Linked DNA regions of Homo sapiens: region 2 is linked to region 1. The links are contacts of gene promoters, found by promoter capture Hi-C in human tissues and cell types (Jung and others, 2019). All regions are on one chromosome and are shown on one strand. The core of a region is centred on a gene start or on the middle of the fragment in contact, and the rest is flanking DNA. Distances in the headings are between cores, read along the strand shown. Region 1 holds the start of SRP68 (signal recognition particle 68). Region 2 holds the start of AANAT (aralkylamine N-acetyltransferase).

Evidence for each region. The method cuts DNA at HindIII sites, captures the fragments that hold promoters and counts their contacts. A contact is called where the count stands out against the background at its distance.
Region 2: a fragment that was not itself captured here is called in contact with the fragment with the promoter of SRP68 in region 1 in 1 of the 25 tissues and cell types used here (spleen).

The regions. Positions count from the first base shown.
Region 1 is chr17:76,068,755-76,076,124 of GRCh38, forward strand. SRP68 (signal recognition particle 68) reads right to left here and starts at 3,763. Exons shown (of 16, transcript NM_014230.4): 1 at 3,554-3,763; 2 at 1,624-1,690. The coding sequence starts at 3,737. GALR2 (galanin receptor 2) reads left to right here and starts at 6,027. Exons shown (of 2, transcript NM_003857.4): 1 at 6,027-6,497. The coding sequence starts at 6,130. RefSeq lists enhancers at 3,050-3,877, 3,876-3,925, 3,878-4,705, 6,092-6,973. The HindIII fragment of the contact is 13,843 bases long and covers 502-7,370 here.
Region 2 is chr17:76,462,910-76,470,279 of GRCh38, forward strand. It overlaps AANAT (aralkylamine N-acetyltransferase), which reads left to right and starts at 4,694. Exons shown (of 4, transcript NM_001088.3): 1 at 4,694-4,818; 2 at 5,763-6,000; 3 at 6,264-6,418; 4 at 6,756-7,208. The coding sequence starts at 5,838. The coding sequence ends at 7,061. The HindIII fragment of the contact is 7,095 bases long and covers 170-7,264 here.

The DNA of each region.
Region 1 (7,370 bases), core at 2,513-5,012:
CTTTAGTGCAGGGAGAATTATTTTTTTGAGACAGAGTCTCACTATGTTGCTGTTGCCCAGGCTGGGCTCGAACTCCGGGGCTTAAGCAATTCTCGGGCCTCATCCTCCCAAGTAACTGGCACTATGGCATGTGCCACCATTCCAGCTAGGATTTCATTTTTAAATTTTCCACAATGCCTTACCACAGTGTCTAATATGCAGATGTTCAATACATACATTTTGACTAAATTAGTTTAAAATATATATATAAATAAATAAATATATATATATATAAAATTGCACCAACCTTTAAGTCAAAGTAATACAGCACATAATTTACAATACAAAATGATATTTCAATACTACTTCAGGGGCCGGGCGTGGTGGTTCACGCCTGTAATCCTAGCACTTTGGGAGGCTGAGGCAGGCAGATCACTTGAGGTCAGGAGTTCGAGACCAGCCTGGGCAACATGGTGAAACCCCATCTCTACTAAAAATACAAAAATTAGCCAGGCATGGTGGTGCATGCCTGTAGTCCCAGGTACTCGGGAGGCTGAGGCAGGAGAACTGCTTGAACCCGGAAGGCGGAGGTTGCAGTACACCGAGATCGTGCCACTGCATTCCAGACTGGGTGACAGACAAAGACTCTGTCTCAAAAAAATAAGTAAATAAATAAAATGAAATAAAAATAAATAAATAGGCCAGGCACATTGGCTCACACCCGTAATCCCAGTACTTTGGGAGGCTGAGGCAGGTGGATCACCTGAGGTCAGGAGTTCAAGACCAGCCTGGCCAACATGGTGAAATCTTGTCTCTACTAAAAATTAGCCGGGCATGGTGGCATGTGCCTTCAGTCCCAGCCACTCAGGAGGCTGAGGCAGAAGAATCACTTGAACCCGGGAGGCGGAGGTTGCAGTGAGCCGAGATCGCGCCACTATACTCCAGCCTGGGCAACAGAGTGAGACTCCGTATCAAAAATAAATAAAATAAATACTACTTCAGCATCTCAATCAAAGCTACCAGGGTATAGATTATTTAAAAGAAAAAAAAAAAAAGAAATAGGCCAGACACGGTGGCTCACGCCTGTAATTCCAACACTTTGGGAAGCTGAGGTGGGTGGATCACCTGAGGTCAGGAGTTTGAGACCAGCCTGGCCAACATGGCGAAACCCCATCTCTACTAAAAATACAAAAATTAGCCAGGCATGGTGGCACATGCCTATAATCCCAGGTACTCTGGAGGCAGAAGCAGGAGAATCACCTGAACCCGGGAGGCATGGGCTGCAGTGAGCCAGGATTGCGCCACTACACTCCAGCCTGGGTGACAGAGTGAGACTCCATCTCAAAAAACAAACAAACAAACAAACAAAAAAAACAGCTACTCAGGAGGCTGAGGCAGGAGAATCGCTGGAACCCAGGAGGTGGAGGTTGCAGTGAGCCAACATTGCGCCACTGCACTCCAGCCTGGCGACAGAGCGAGACTCCATCTCAAAAAAAAAAAAAAAAACAAAGCAAACAAACAAACAAAAAAAACAATGCTCTAGACTTTCTAGCATATTTGCTGATATAGCAGAGTAAACAGGATATTAACAAAAGCAAAGCAAGTCCCACAATGATTTCCAAACATCTTGTATGTGATACTAACCTGTACCTCTGAAAATCTCCATGCCGTAAACCATGCTGCTGCTGGGATTCCTTAATAATCTGAAGAACTAGAGTCGAGATTAAGGAAAATCTTACCATAGCAAGAATCCAAACAAATCAAAACCTGTACCATCAGTCTATATCTGTGTCAAACCACAACACATTAAACATTTGTGAAATATAGCCAGGTACGGTGGCTCATGCCTGTAATCCCAGCACTGTGGGAGGCCGAGGCGGGTGTATCACCTGAGGTCAGGAGTTCAAGACCAGCCTGGCCAGCATGGTGAAACCCCGTCTCTACTAAAAACACAAAAAATTAGCCGGGCGCAATGGCTAGCACCTGTAATCCCAGCTACTCGGGAGGCTGAGGCAGGAGAATCGCTTGAACTTGGAAGGCAGAGGTTGCAATGAGCCAAGACAGCGCCACTGCACTCCAGCCTAGGTGAGAGTGAGATTCAGTCACACATGCACATGCACACACACACACACACACACACACACACAAATTTGTGAAATATTTAGTACACTGGTGAGATCTTTTGTAACCATTTTCAATATCTATCTTGTCACAGGACAGGGCTAACCTACAGGAAAACTGATTGCCTGAACTGTTACTACTTGCAAACTGAAAAAGGAGGGCACTACTGGCCACTGGAAACTGCCAAAACCCAGTTTAAATTAAGCTGATGGATTCTAAATGCTGACTATAATTGGGGTGCTTCACACCAATTAACACCTAGACCCCACATTTTATTCATTCAGATTCAGGTTATAAATGACATGTACTAAGCCTCCATTTGCATAATCTCCAACACCTGCCAAATCTAACTTTCCTTAACAGCTGTGATGCTTAGAGAGTCTATGATTAGCACATGTCAACCAAGCTAGGCTACAGTTTGCATAAAAGTATTAAGGTTTTTCTTTCAAAAGAAGAATGGCCAGATTCTCCTTTTAATAATCTTAAAATATTTAAGATTATGTACTAATCTTTAGAAAGTCCAATGACCTTCATCTATATAGGTATAGTTTTAATGTTTCCTCAACACTTCTCTAGAGACATATTTTAAAATAGTGAACGCTAAAAGGACTCTTTAAATTACTAAAACGGGACAAAGAGATATAAAGGTCTCAGTAAAATCAGGGCTCGCTAGCGTCTACTTGGAACTATTACCAGTAATTCAAAATATTTAACTCCAAGCGCCTGAGAACTTTAAGCACATTAAGATGTCAAGTTGAATGTGTTATTTCAGAAACTCGCCTACGTTTTCTCCATTTGTTATTCATTTCAAAAGGTCACAAACTAGTACCACAAGCACTTGGTTGAGATACACACTGATGGAAACTAGAAACCGATTCCTCCAGCTTATATGAATGACTGTCAGCAAGATAAAATGCCTACAGACCGATCAGAAAAAAATGACACAATCGATATTAACTACGGTAACTTACAATCAAAATGGGCAACAAGCTTTTCCTGAGTCAATCTTTACCTCCACTTTCAAAGTATCGAGCTGTAGGTTTTACTACTCAGTCTATGACGACTGTCAGACAAGAGTATTAAGCCAAATGTCAAGACTGCAGTTTCCTCTCCCCAGTTCAGTGGCTCAAGGTGCCAAAGCAAGGTGCTCAAGGTGTCACTTGGTCACAAGCCCTCCAACTGGACAACTGCGGGGCACCAGGGGAAACCTGCCTGATATCCCAGTGCCACTGGAAGAAACGGACCTAGCCAGGACGGCGAGGGGGACACGAGGAAAGACTAGTCGAGAGACAGACCCCCCCCGGAATTCTGAGCACCAAAAGGTAAGGGCGAGAGAAACTGCAACCCTCGGCCTCTCCTGCCAGGACTTGTCGGGACCCGCCGCCTCTCCCGCCCCCAGCCCTCCAGTTCGACACGTAATCATTGCGAGTTAGGCCCGATTACTCTAGGATACTCTCCAAACTCAGGCTATCCCCAAATTCTTTGTTTGCCTTCGATCCGGCCGAAGGGCGTTCGTTTTCTTTATTTTCTTCCCCTCCGGCACCACGTCCACCGCCGCTACCGCCGCCGCCACTGCCACCGCCGCCGCCACTGCCGCCGCCGCCGCCGCCGCCTGGGACCTGCTTCTCAGCAGCCATCTTGCCCCTGCGCCGCAGAGCAAGACGGGATAGGGGAGGCGGGACGACCTGGGCGGGTGAGAGCTGGACCTGCCTGGCCGGGCTGATGGGATAGCGGCGGACTCCGCCGCCGTCGGCCCTTGCTGCAGCAGGGCGCCATGTGCTGGAGCGCGCCTGCGCGAGGGATCCTGTCATCCCGGGTCCGGAATTGTGGCTGGCTAGGTGGGGACTTGAGGCCGCAGTGAGACCGTGGCTGCTGAGATCTCAGGGGGCAGTCCCACCTCCCACCCACTAAGGGCGGAGAACCGGAGGTGGACCCCAGGTCCTGCATCCTGGACTGGGGATCTGGTTCACGTCCTGCCCAGCAGAAAGCAGGAGACCAAAGATACTGGATTTCGGGGTGTCTGCATCCCCAGGGACTCAAGAGATGGGGTCCTCCCTACCGGAACGGGACACCCCGTCCGTAAGGGACCCGCCTCTGCCTGCCCTTTCCTCTGAGGCTGGCCGTAAGAACGCCAAGCCGGAGGAAGCGCTGCGCAGTCAGCAGACGGTGTCCTAACGGGGTGACTTTCTCAGACCGCTTGGGGCCGTGGACCACTGCACTTTGGGGCCGTCAGTCCAAAGAGGGAGAAGTGTTGAGACATGGGAAAATATGAATTTTTGCTTTGCACCTTCTAGAGTCTGAGACCTGGGATTCCAATCCCCGCTCCGTCATTAGCGGCAGGGACATGTTGGGCACGTAACTTAATCTCCCTGTAAATCTGTTCCTTCATCTATGAAATGGGGATAACCAATTTAAGTGGTTGTTAGGAAGATTAAATGACGGATTTTTTTTTTTTTTTTAGATAGAGTTTCGCTCTTGTTGCCCAGGCTGGAGTGCAATGGTGTGATCTCGGCTCACTGCAACCTCTGCCTCCTGGGTTCAAGCCATTCTCCTGCCTCAGCCTCCCGAGTAGCTGGGATTACAGGCGCCTGCCACCACGTCCCGCTAATTTTTGTATTTTTAGTGGAGACGGGGTTTCACCATGTTGGTCAGGATGGTCTCGATCTCCTGACCTCGTGATCCGCCCGCCTCGGCCTCCCAAAGTGCTGGGATTACAGGCGTGAACCACCGCGCCCGGCCCTGAACTCTATTTTGAATTTCCTCAAGGTATACGGAATAAGGTCAGGAGAAAAAGAATAAGGATCTGATGCATTCAGATTTAACTAACTCTCCCATACATCTCATTCCTTTCTCAGCAGATCCCTCTTAGAAGGAAGTGTTACCATTTCCTTGTTACAGCTGAGGAAACTGAGGCATGGAGCCAAAGACAGAGCCTGACACAATAGATGCTCAGTATATTGGATTGAATTGGAGGGAAAACGTTCAATGGGTAAGAGAAGGGAAAAAGGTGGCCGGGCTCGGTGGCTTACGCCTGTAATCCCAGCACTTTGGGAGGCCGAGGTGGGCGGATCACTTGAGGTCAGGAGTTTGAGACCAGCTTGGCCAACATGGTGAAACCCCATTTCTACTAAAAATACGAAAATAAGCCAGGCGTGGTGGCAGGCGCCCGTCATCCCAGCTACTCGGGAGGCTGAGGCAGGAGGATCGCTTGAACCCGGGAGGCGGAGGTTGCAGTGAGCCGATATCATGCCACTACACTCCAGCCTGGGCGACAGAGTGAGACTCTGTCTCAACAAATACAAATACAAAAAACTAGCCAGACGTTGTGGCGGACGCCTGTAGTCCCAGCCCCTCAGAAGGCCGAGGCAGGAGAACCGTTTGAACCCGGGAGACGGAGGTTGCAGTGAGCCGAGATCGCGCCACTGCACTCTAGCCTGGGCGAAAGAGCCAGACTCCGGGGCCCCTCATCCGCCTCCGCCCCGCGTTTCCTCCCCCCGATCTCCCAGGGGTCCTCTTTTGAGGGCACCCCAGCCCCTCGACGGTCCCGGGATATCCTGCACCCCTGCCAGGCTGCAGGGAAGCGCCGAGGCGCGCGGAGTGCGAGGTCCGTGCTCCCTGCGGCGCGGCGCACACGCAGGGTCCGGGGTCGACCCCTCCACCGCTCCGGCGTCTGCCGGGGAAGTCAGTCCGCCTGGTCAGCCCAGAACCCCCGACTGCGGGGGCTGGAGCTCGGAAGCAGGTACAAGCGCCACTCTCCGCCTGCGCCGTGGAATGCGCGCCGGGACCACTCCGCAGCCCTTCCCCCAGCGCCGCCGGCCGCTGCTGGGGACAACCTCGCCCTCCTGTCTCTTGCTCCTCCTCCTGACCCCAGCGCACCCCCATCCCCGCCCCAGATGAGGCAAGGCTCCCTCCGCCTTCAGCCCGGCAGAGTCGCACTAGGAGTTGCAGCGGCCGCAGCCCCGGGAGCTTCCCGCTCGCGGAGACCCAGACGGCTGCAGGAGCCCGGGCAGCCTCGGGGTCAGCGGCACCATGAACGTCTCGGGCTGCCCAGGGGCCGGGAACGCGAGCCAGGCGGGCGGCGGGGGAGGCTGGCACCCCGAGGCGGTCATCGTGCCCCTGCTCTTCGCGCTCATCTTCCTCGTGGGCACCGTGGGCAACACGCTGGTGCTGGCGGTGCTGCTGCGCGGCGGCCAGGCGGTCAGCACTACCAACCTGTTCATCCTTAACCTGGGCGTGGCCGACCTGTGTTTCATCCTGTGCTGCGTGCCCTTCCAGGCCACCATCTACACCCTGGACGGCTGGGTGTTCGGCTCGCTGCTGTGCAAGGCGGTGCACTTCCTCATCTTCCTCACCATGCACGCCAGCAGCTTCACGCTGGCCGCCGTCTCCCTGGACAGGTGAGCCAGCGCCTTGGCCTCCCTGGGAGATGGGCATCCACGCGGGGGATGGAGCGGGAGGCGGGACTGGGGACCAAGAAGGGACGCGCAGAGTGGGACAGGACACTAAGAAGGCAGTGGAAGACAAGCGGGCGCGGAGGAGGAAAAAGAGGAATAAGAATGGGGGACCGTGGTGTCCCTCGGTTAGATGCGTCCTGGGGCCTGGAAGCCTGGAGAATGTGGCTCTCCAGCGCCGCCCGTGCCTGACAACGCGCAGCGTTTCCCAGTACGACGCGTTTGTGCGCGTTCATCTCGCTTGAGCTTAATGCCCTCCGTGAGGGTGGGATAGGACAAAGTGCCCAATATACAGAAGAGTTGAGTTCCTAAGTAACTCGCTCAGAGTCGCCAGCCAGGGATCGGGTGCGTGAAGTGACCGTCTGTCTCCTGCAGCCAACTTCAGGCGCCTCCACTGCGCTCGCCTCCAAGCCACGGTTTGGTTGGTTGGTGCAGCTGGCTCAGGTCCAGGCTGTGGATCTTGGGTCCTTTGCAAGGATCCACTCCGGAGTCCCAGCGAGCGTGCCTAAAGGTCCCTAGCTCAGTCCCAGCCCACTCTGCCTCTCGCCTCCAAACAAAACAAAACAAAATAAAATCCAAAACAAGTCGGGGCCGGGAGAGGAGCGTGCCCTGGGGTTCTTCCTCCCCAGCCAGAGGAGAGCGAGAGACGCACATTCGGGAGAGCGCGGGACTCAGGTGGAGCTTGAAAGGACACTGGGATGGTTCCTGGGGAGGAAATCCGGGTATTTCCCCTCTCCATCCTCTGGAAAAACAGAGAGGCGAGGCCAGACTGCCCCCACACCTCCTGTAGCCACTGAGCGCGAAGTGCGTTGGTTCCGA
Region 2 (7,370 bases), core at 2,467-4,966, 390 kb after region 1:
AGGTGTCCCTGGGACATGGCCATGGGGCCCACTCCTTGGTCTGCCCCAAATGGGCTCCCTTCAGTCTGGGTGTGAAACTGGGCAGCTGACACACGGAGGGGAGGGGGTGTGTCTCCATGCGGGAAGCTCCCAGATTCCAGGTCCAGGGCTTCTGCACTGGGCCCGGTGGGGATGCTCACTGCCCCTGCACCAGGCTCTCCGGGGGTATCAGCAGCTGCAGCAGGCTCGGTGCCCGGGATGGGGTGGGGGCCGTGGGGAGGTTTTCTCCAACCCCCGGCCGTGGCAGCGAGTCAGTGTGCCTTTAATCAACGGCCTCTGCACTCCACCTCTCACTGTCACCATTAAGGCCATTCCTCTGCATCTGGCCTCTCCACCCATTTCTCCCTTCTGGAAGGATTCCTTTTTTTTTTTTTTTTGAGATACAGTCTTGCTCTGTGGCCCAAGTTGGAGTGCAGTGGTGCAATCTTGGCTCACTGCAACCTCTGCCTCCTGGGTTCCAGCAATTCTCCTGCCTCAGCCTCCCGAGTAGCTGGGATTACAGGCACCCACCACCACGCCCAGATCATTTTTGTATTTTTAGTAGAGACGGGGTTTCACCATGTTAGCCAGACTGCTATTGAACTCCTGACCTCGAGCTATCCACCCACCTCAGCCTCCTAAAGTGCTGGGATTACAGGTGTGAGCCACCGTGCCCGGCCTTTTCTGGAAGGATTCTTAAAGGTCATCGGAGCCTCCCTGTTGGCAGAATCTGAGATCTGTTCTCCATTCTTTGTGGCATTTCAGGCTCTATCTGCCCCATTTCTTGGACATTCTCCCCTGGGTTCTTCCCTTCTTGTGGCTTCACCTGTGTTCCTGTTAATAACTCCTTTCCCTGCTAACAGTGGACATCCCAAAAGCTTGGTTCTCAGCTTTCGTGTGGTGATACACATCCTCTCAGAACCTTTTTTACTGTCATGATATCAGTTATCCGCTCAATAACTGTCGTCATCATCCTCACCACATCTGATTAGGAGTGGGATGGGGGCTCTGATGGGTCAGAGGTGAGGCTCTACCAGGGCAGGTGGGGAGTTAGGTAGCATGGTCCCTGGCAGTTCTCTGTGTGCCCTGGACAACCCCTCTCCAAACTGCTATAGAATATTCTGGAGTCCTGCCTGGGTGCGGTGGCTCACGCCTGTAATCCCAACACTTTAGGAGGCTGAGGCAGGTGGATCACCTGAGTTCAGGAGTTTGAGACCAGCCTGACCAATATGGCGAAAGCCCATCTCTAGGAAAAATAAAAAAAATTAGCCAGGCATGGTGGTGTGCGCCCGTAATCCCAGCTACTTGGGAGGCTAAGGCAGGAGAATTGCTTGAACCTGGGAGGCGGAGGTTGCAGTGAGCCGAGATTGTGCCATTGCACTCCAGCCTGGGCCACAGAGCAAGACTCTGTCTTAAAAAAAAAAAAAAAAAGAATATTCTGGAGTCTTGAAGTGGAAGCCCAGTCACAGACCATGATTTTCATGGGACCGAAGAGCCTTTTGGGAGAAAACTGAACCCCATCTGGCATTTGAAATGTGTAAATCTGTCTGGGAGATCGAAAGAGGCCAGGCTGGGTGGAGAGACAGGGGGACCCCTGAGGGGAGCCATCATGGGTGAGGCAGGGTGGCATGGTACACACTGGGCAGGGAGTCGCGGTGGGTGAGTTGTGGATACAGGACTTTCAAGGGAGCTGCTGCTGGAGGGAGAGGCTGGGAACAAAGAGCCTCGGCCTCCCAAAGTGCTGGGATTACAGGCATGAGCCACGACGTCAAGCCATTTCTGTGGTTTACAGTCATCCAGTTTGTGTATCATCTGTTACAGCACCCCTGGGAAACATACAGATGCCAGCTTCTCCCTGTCTGTATCTATATATTTTTTTTTTTTGAGATAGCAGTTTCACTCTTTTTGCCCAGGCTGGAGTACAATGGCACGATCTTGGCTCACTGCAACCTCTGCTTCCTGGGTTCAAGCAATTCTCCTGCCTCAGCCTCCCAAGTGGCTGGGATTACAAGCGCCCACCACCACACCTGGCTGATTTTTTGTATTTTTAGTAGAGACGGAGTTTCACCATATTGGCCAGGCTGGTCTCGAACTCTTGACCTCAGGTGATCCACCCGCCTCAGCCTCCCAAAGTGCTGGGATTACAGGCATGAGCCACCGTGCCCGGCCTTGCCCATCAGGTTAGGTGTTTATCAGCTGTCTAGAGTGACTGAACAGGTACGACTTGGGGGGCAAAGGACACATTCTCCCCCCCATCCCCAAGATCCACCTGAGAGGCAGTCACCAGAGGCGTTGCCAGCACTCTTAACTGCAATAGCAGGACAAGACTGGGCATCTGATAAACAGTGCAATCGGTGTCCCTGGCGTGAGGATGATCTCGGAGGTGCTTCTTTTTTAGAGCCCACCTGAGGTCAGGATTTTTTTTTTTTTTTTTGAGACAACATCTTGCTCAGTTACCCAGGCTGGAGTGCAGTGGCTCATCACTGCAGCCTGAACCACCTAGGCTCAAGTGATCTTCCCACCTCAGCCTCCCAAGTAGCTGGGGCTACAGGTGTGTGCCACCATGCTTGGCTGATTTTTAAATTTTTTGTAGAGACAGGGGTCTTGCTATGTTGCCCAGGCTGGTCTCAAACTCCTGGGCTCAAGTGATCCTCCTGCCTTGGCCTCCCAAAGTGCTGGGATTACAGGTGTGAGCCACTATGCCCAGCCCCAGGGATCTCCTTCTCTCTGTACCCATCACCCTGTTGGGCCCCTCACCCTCCTTATTTTCCTTCTCATTGGTGGTGGTATGTGGTTTTCTTCCTGTTGACCAGGACAAAGGTCCCAGCGATCACCCTGCCCTCCCCTGTCTCCTCTCCTGTCCCACAAGGGTTTGAACTTCCCAGTTTCACCATGTTTAACATACCGCCTCATCTTTAAAAAAAATTTATTTTTATTTGTATTTTTTTGAGACAGGGTCTCGCTCTGTCGCCCAGGCTGGAGTGCAGTGGCGAGTCACTACAGCCTCGACCTCTCCGGCTCAAGCCATCCTCCCGTCTCTGTCTCCCAAAGTGCTGGGATTACAGCGGTGAGCCACTGTGCCTGGCTTACTGCCTCATCTTGTTCCCTGAGGTTCTAGACCTCTAGGGTGTTGTCCGGAAAGAACAGGGCCATGTGGAAGTCAGCAAAGAGAGAGGCCGATTGAACAGCAGGCTCTTCTCAGGCATCGCCAAGTGACTGATTAGGATTGGCCACCAGGGGGTGCCATGGAGCCACAGTCTATGAAGGGACAGAAGAGGCCTTTTGGGGGACCCTGGAGGTTGAAGGTGGGGATGCCCAGCTGAGGTCTTGGACATGACCACCCCACCAACCAAGCCCAAGGAGGTCTCTGGTCGGTCCTGAGAGGTCTGTTGAGGGTCCCTTCTAGCAGGCAGGTGGGCCTCAGAGTGCAGAGGGGCCCTGGGAGAAGGGGACCCAGAGACAGGAGGAATGCATGTGGTGGGTGGGCGGGGGCATCGGGACGGGGTCACTCCACGGTCAGGGGCTGTGTCCCAAACCGTATGGGTAGGAACAGGAGCTTCCTCTGCGGGGGGGTCGAAAGAGTGCACCTGTGAGGACACTGAAAACCAGCAGGAGAATCATGAAGACAGGAAACAGGAGTCTCATTGTGAGATGAGTGGGTCCCACCAGTGCAGCCGTGGCAGTGCATGTCAGGAGGCTGACCCGGCTTTGCCCCTCCCCCTTCACTTGTTGGATGGCTCTGAGCAGGTTACTGAACCTGTCTGTGCCTCGGTTTCCTTCTCTATAACGTGGTTAATACTCATTTGGCCGGGCTTCCGTGTGGATTAAAGGAGACGCGTATCCAGGGCCCGGCACATAGCAAGTGCTGTAAGCAGTGGCACTCACAGGCTGCCAGGACAGGAAGGACCCTCAGAGGTCCGTCCCAAGCTGTGTGGGTAGGAGCAGAAGCTTCCTCTGCAGGGGGTCAAAAGAGTGCACCTGTGAAATCCAACCTCCAGGACCCCCAGGAGCCCGAGATGGACACAGGATCTGCACTGCTGGGTGGGGCGGAGAGGCAGGTGCTGGCGAGAGAAGAGCTAAGGGGTGCAGGATGGGGTGTGAGCTGGAGGGCAGGGGGTAGTCAGAGCCAACAGGGAGAGGGGCCTGCATCCCGAGGGAATGCCAGCACCAAGTGCCAAGGCCTGGGCAGCCCTGGGAATGGGTGGAGCCAAGGTCAATAGCAGAGAGCTTTGTAGTTGAGATGTTTGGTAGGGCAACCTCCTGAATATTTAAATATTTAATTAAATTAAATATTTAAATAAACTTGAAGTAGAACGTACTTAAAGTGCACAAATTGGTAGCTTGAATTCCCACCCCCTCCCCCCACATAAGAGGTGGGCTTGTCCAAGACTCCGAGGGACAGAGGGAGAATCGCTGGTGCCCAGCCAGTCGGTGACAGAGCAGGGATTAGAGATGGACCCCTGAGGCTTAGCCCCACGCTCTCTTCCCCAAACCCTGGGGCCTCAGTCAGCCTCTGGTAATCCCTTCTGTGCCCAGGGCACCAGAGCTGACGTTTCCCTTCAGCAAGGCAGGGGCCGAGGCTGCCAGAGCCCTGCTGGCGTCATCCTGCCTGGGATAGCTCGAGAGGTGGGGTGGGGGGATTACAAACCTCTAACAGCACCACAGGCTGCCCGGGGAACATCTGCTACTACAGCCTTGCAGCCCGGAGTCCCGGATTTTACTGGTTCCCGTGCCTGCGGACAGGCCCCCAGGGCTAGCGGCTTTGTGGAGGGAACACTGGGTATCCTCTCCACAGTCCAGGTAGGTGGGACCCCCACTCCTGGCTCTCAGCCTTTAGGAACAGGAGCTTCTCTACTTGGAGCTTCTAGACATGGAGGGAAACATGGAAGCCATGGAGTTTATTAAGTGTCTTGGAAGGTGGAGGGAGGGATGGCCTCCTCTAAGAACTGCAAATCTGCAGGGTGTCTTGGGAGACAAGAGTGCCCAGAGGGGAATGTCTGATGAGCTGGATGTGTGGGGCAGGGGGTGTCCTATGCACTCTCCTTGCCTGCTCCTCCCCATTCCCCAGGCCCTCTGCAGCCCCCGGCTCCCTCTAACCTCCCCACCCCCCACCACAAATCCTGCATGTGTGTGGCCCAGTCTGAGGCCATCTGGATAGAAGTAGAGGCTCCCTAAGGGCCCACTTTGATTAAGGGGCTCTCTAGGACCAAGGGCTGAGGCTACCTAAAAAGCTCTCTGCCACAGGATCTTGCACCCAAAGGACCAGAAGCCTCCCTCTGGGGAGGTAAGATAAACCACATGAATGGTGGTGTGGGGGAACCGGGCGCCCACCCACTGCACAGTTGCATTAGACGTGGTCAGTGGAGGGTCACGAGTCCTGCCTCCCCTCCCACCGTGGGCAGCAGGGTTGGGGTGCCCCAGGCTCCACTGAGCCCTGCTCATCCCTGCCACCATCTCTGGGGCTCAGAAGCACCCAGACGGCACCCTGAGACCAATGTCTGCAGGTCTGCAAGGTGGCAAACCTCCAGGGATCCTTCTGGCTGAGAGGGAAAGGTGGGGAGACAGTGCCAATGTTTGCAATGCCTGGTAACAGCCTCGGGGACCAGGTACCTGGGGAATGTGCCCATTGATTTAGGGGCTGTCTCCACCCCAGTTCCTGCTACAAAAGAGGCCAGATACATACTCTGGGGCCTGCCTCCCTGGAGATGAGGATGAGACCCCTGTCCCTTGCTGTTCTCCAACAGGTGCTGGGAGGCCCTCCTTGGCTTAGGAGGACACTTCCAAAGCTGGGGCGCCCCAAGGAGGCACCAGTGGCCAGAATGTCCACGCAGAGCACCCACCCCCTGAAACCTGAGGCCCCACGTCTGCCACCTGGGATCCCCGAGTCCCCGAGCTGTCAGCGGCGCCACACACTCCCTGCCAGTGAGTTTCGCTGCCTCACCCCGGAGGACGCTGTCAGCGCCTTTGAGATCGAGCGTGAAGGTGAGTGGCCCCGCACAGGGTCAGAGGGATGCTCCACTCTGGTCCAGTTATCCTGTGGGGAGGAGACCCTTAGTCTCCTGTCCTTGGAGGCTGGGTCCCAGAGTATCAGACCATGTGTGCGCTCAAGAAAGTGGGGGAAACAGCAGCCCTAACCCCCATTTTCCTGTGGGGAACGGGGCATCTGAGTGGACACTCGGGGTGCAGCAGACAGTGGACGCGAGGCACAGCGACTACCAGTCACCCACCTGAGCCTCCTGCCACAGCCTTCATCTCCGTCTTGGGCGTCTGCCCCCTGTACCTGGATGAGATCCGGCACTTCCTGACCCTATGTCCAGAGCTGTCCCTGGGCTGGTTCGAGGAGGGCTGCCTTGTGGCCTTCATCATCGGCTCGCTCTGGGACAAGGAGAGACTCATGCAGGTGAGGACAGGGCTGCGACGCCCAGCTCCAGGGAGGCCTCTGAAGACAGAGGTCAGCCAGATGGCGGGGAGGGGAGCCCAGGGGCTGGGATTTCTTCCTCCAGAACTGGAGAGATGAGTACAGGCCACAGGCCCCTCCCAGAGCAAGACCTTCTGGGTCTTCAAGTTTTCTCCATGGGGTTGGGGGTATGGCTCCCAATTTGGGGCCCTCCTTTGCTGGGGTGGGTGCCCTGACCACAGGCACCCAGGGGACACCTGCTCCCTGCCTGGGTTGGTGGTTGGGGGGGAGCACGTGTCAGCAGAAGTGACCTGGGATCTCATCCCTTGCTCGCTCCCAGGAGTCACTGACGCTGCACAGGTCTGGGGGCCACATAGCCCACCTGCATGTGCTGGCCGTGCACCGCGCCTTCCGGCAGCAGGGCAGGGGCCCCATCCTGCTGTGGCGCTACCTGCACCACCTGGGCAGCCAGCCGGCCGTGCGCCGGGCCGCGCTCATGTGCGAGGACGCGCTGGTACCCTTCTATGAGAGGTTCAGCTTCCACGCCGTGGGCCCCTGCGCCATCACCGTGGGCTCCCTCACCTTCATGGAGCTCCACTGCTCCCTGCGGGGCCACCCCTTCCTGCGCAGGAACAGCGGCTGCTGAACTGGGCTGCCCACCTGGCTGCCAACATGATCCCCGTCTCTGCCCTGGGCTCCTCTTAGCTCAGCTGAGCATGGAGACAGCAGTTTCCAGAGAGTGGAGAGAGCAGGGCTAAATAAAGAGGAGATAAGGTGGCTTCTCACGGCCTGAGCTGGAGTGGTGTGTCTTGTCTGTCCCCACGAGGCCTCTGGACCTCCTGTGTTCTGAACTCTGTACCTGAGACCGGGCTGGGTTGGTAAGCGGGGACAATGGGAGGTGCTGTGGGGTTCCTGGCTCCTTTCCTCCTGGCAGGTGGGCAAAGGCACCAAGGCG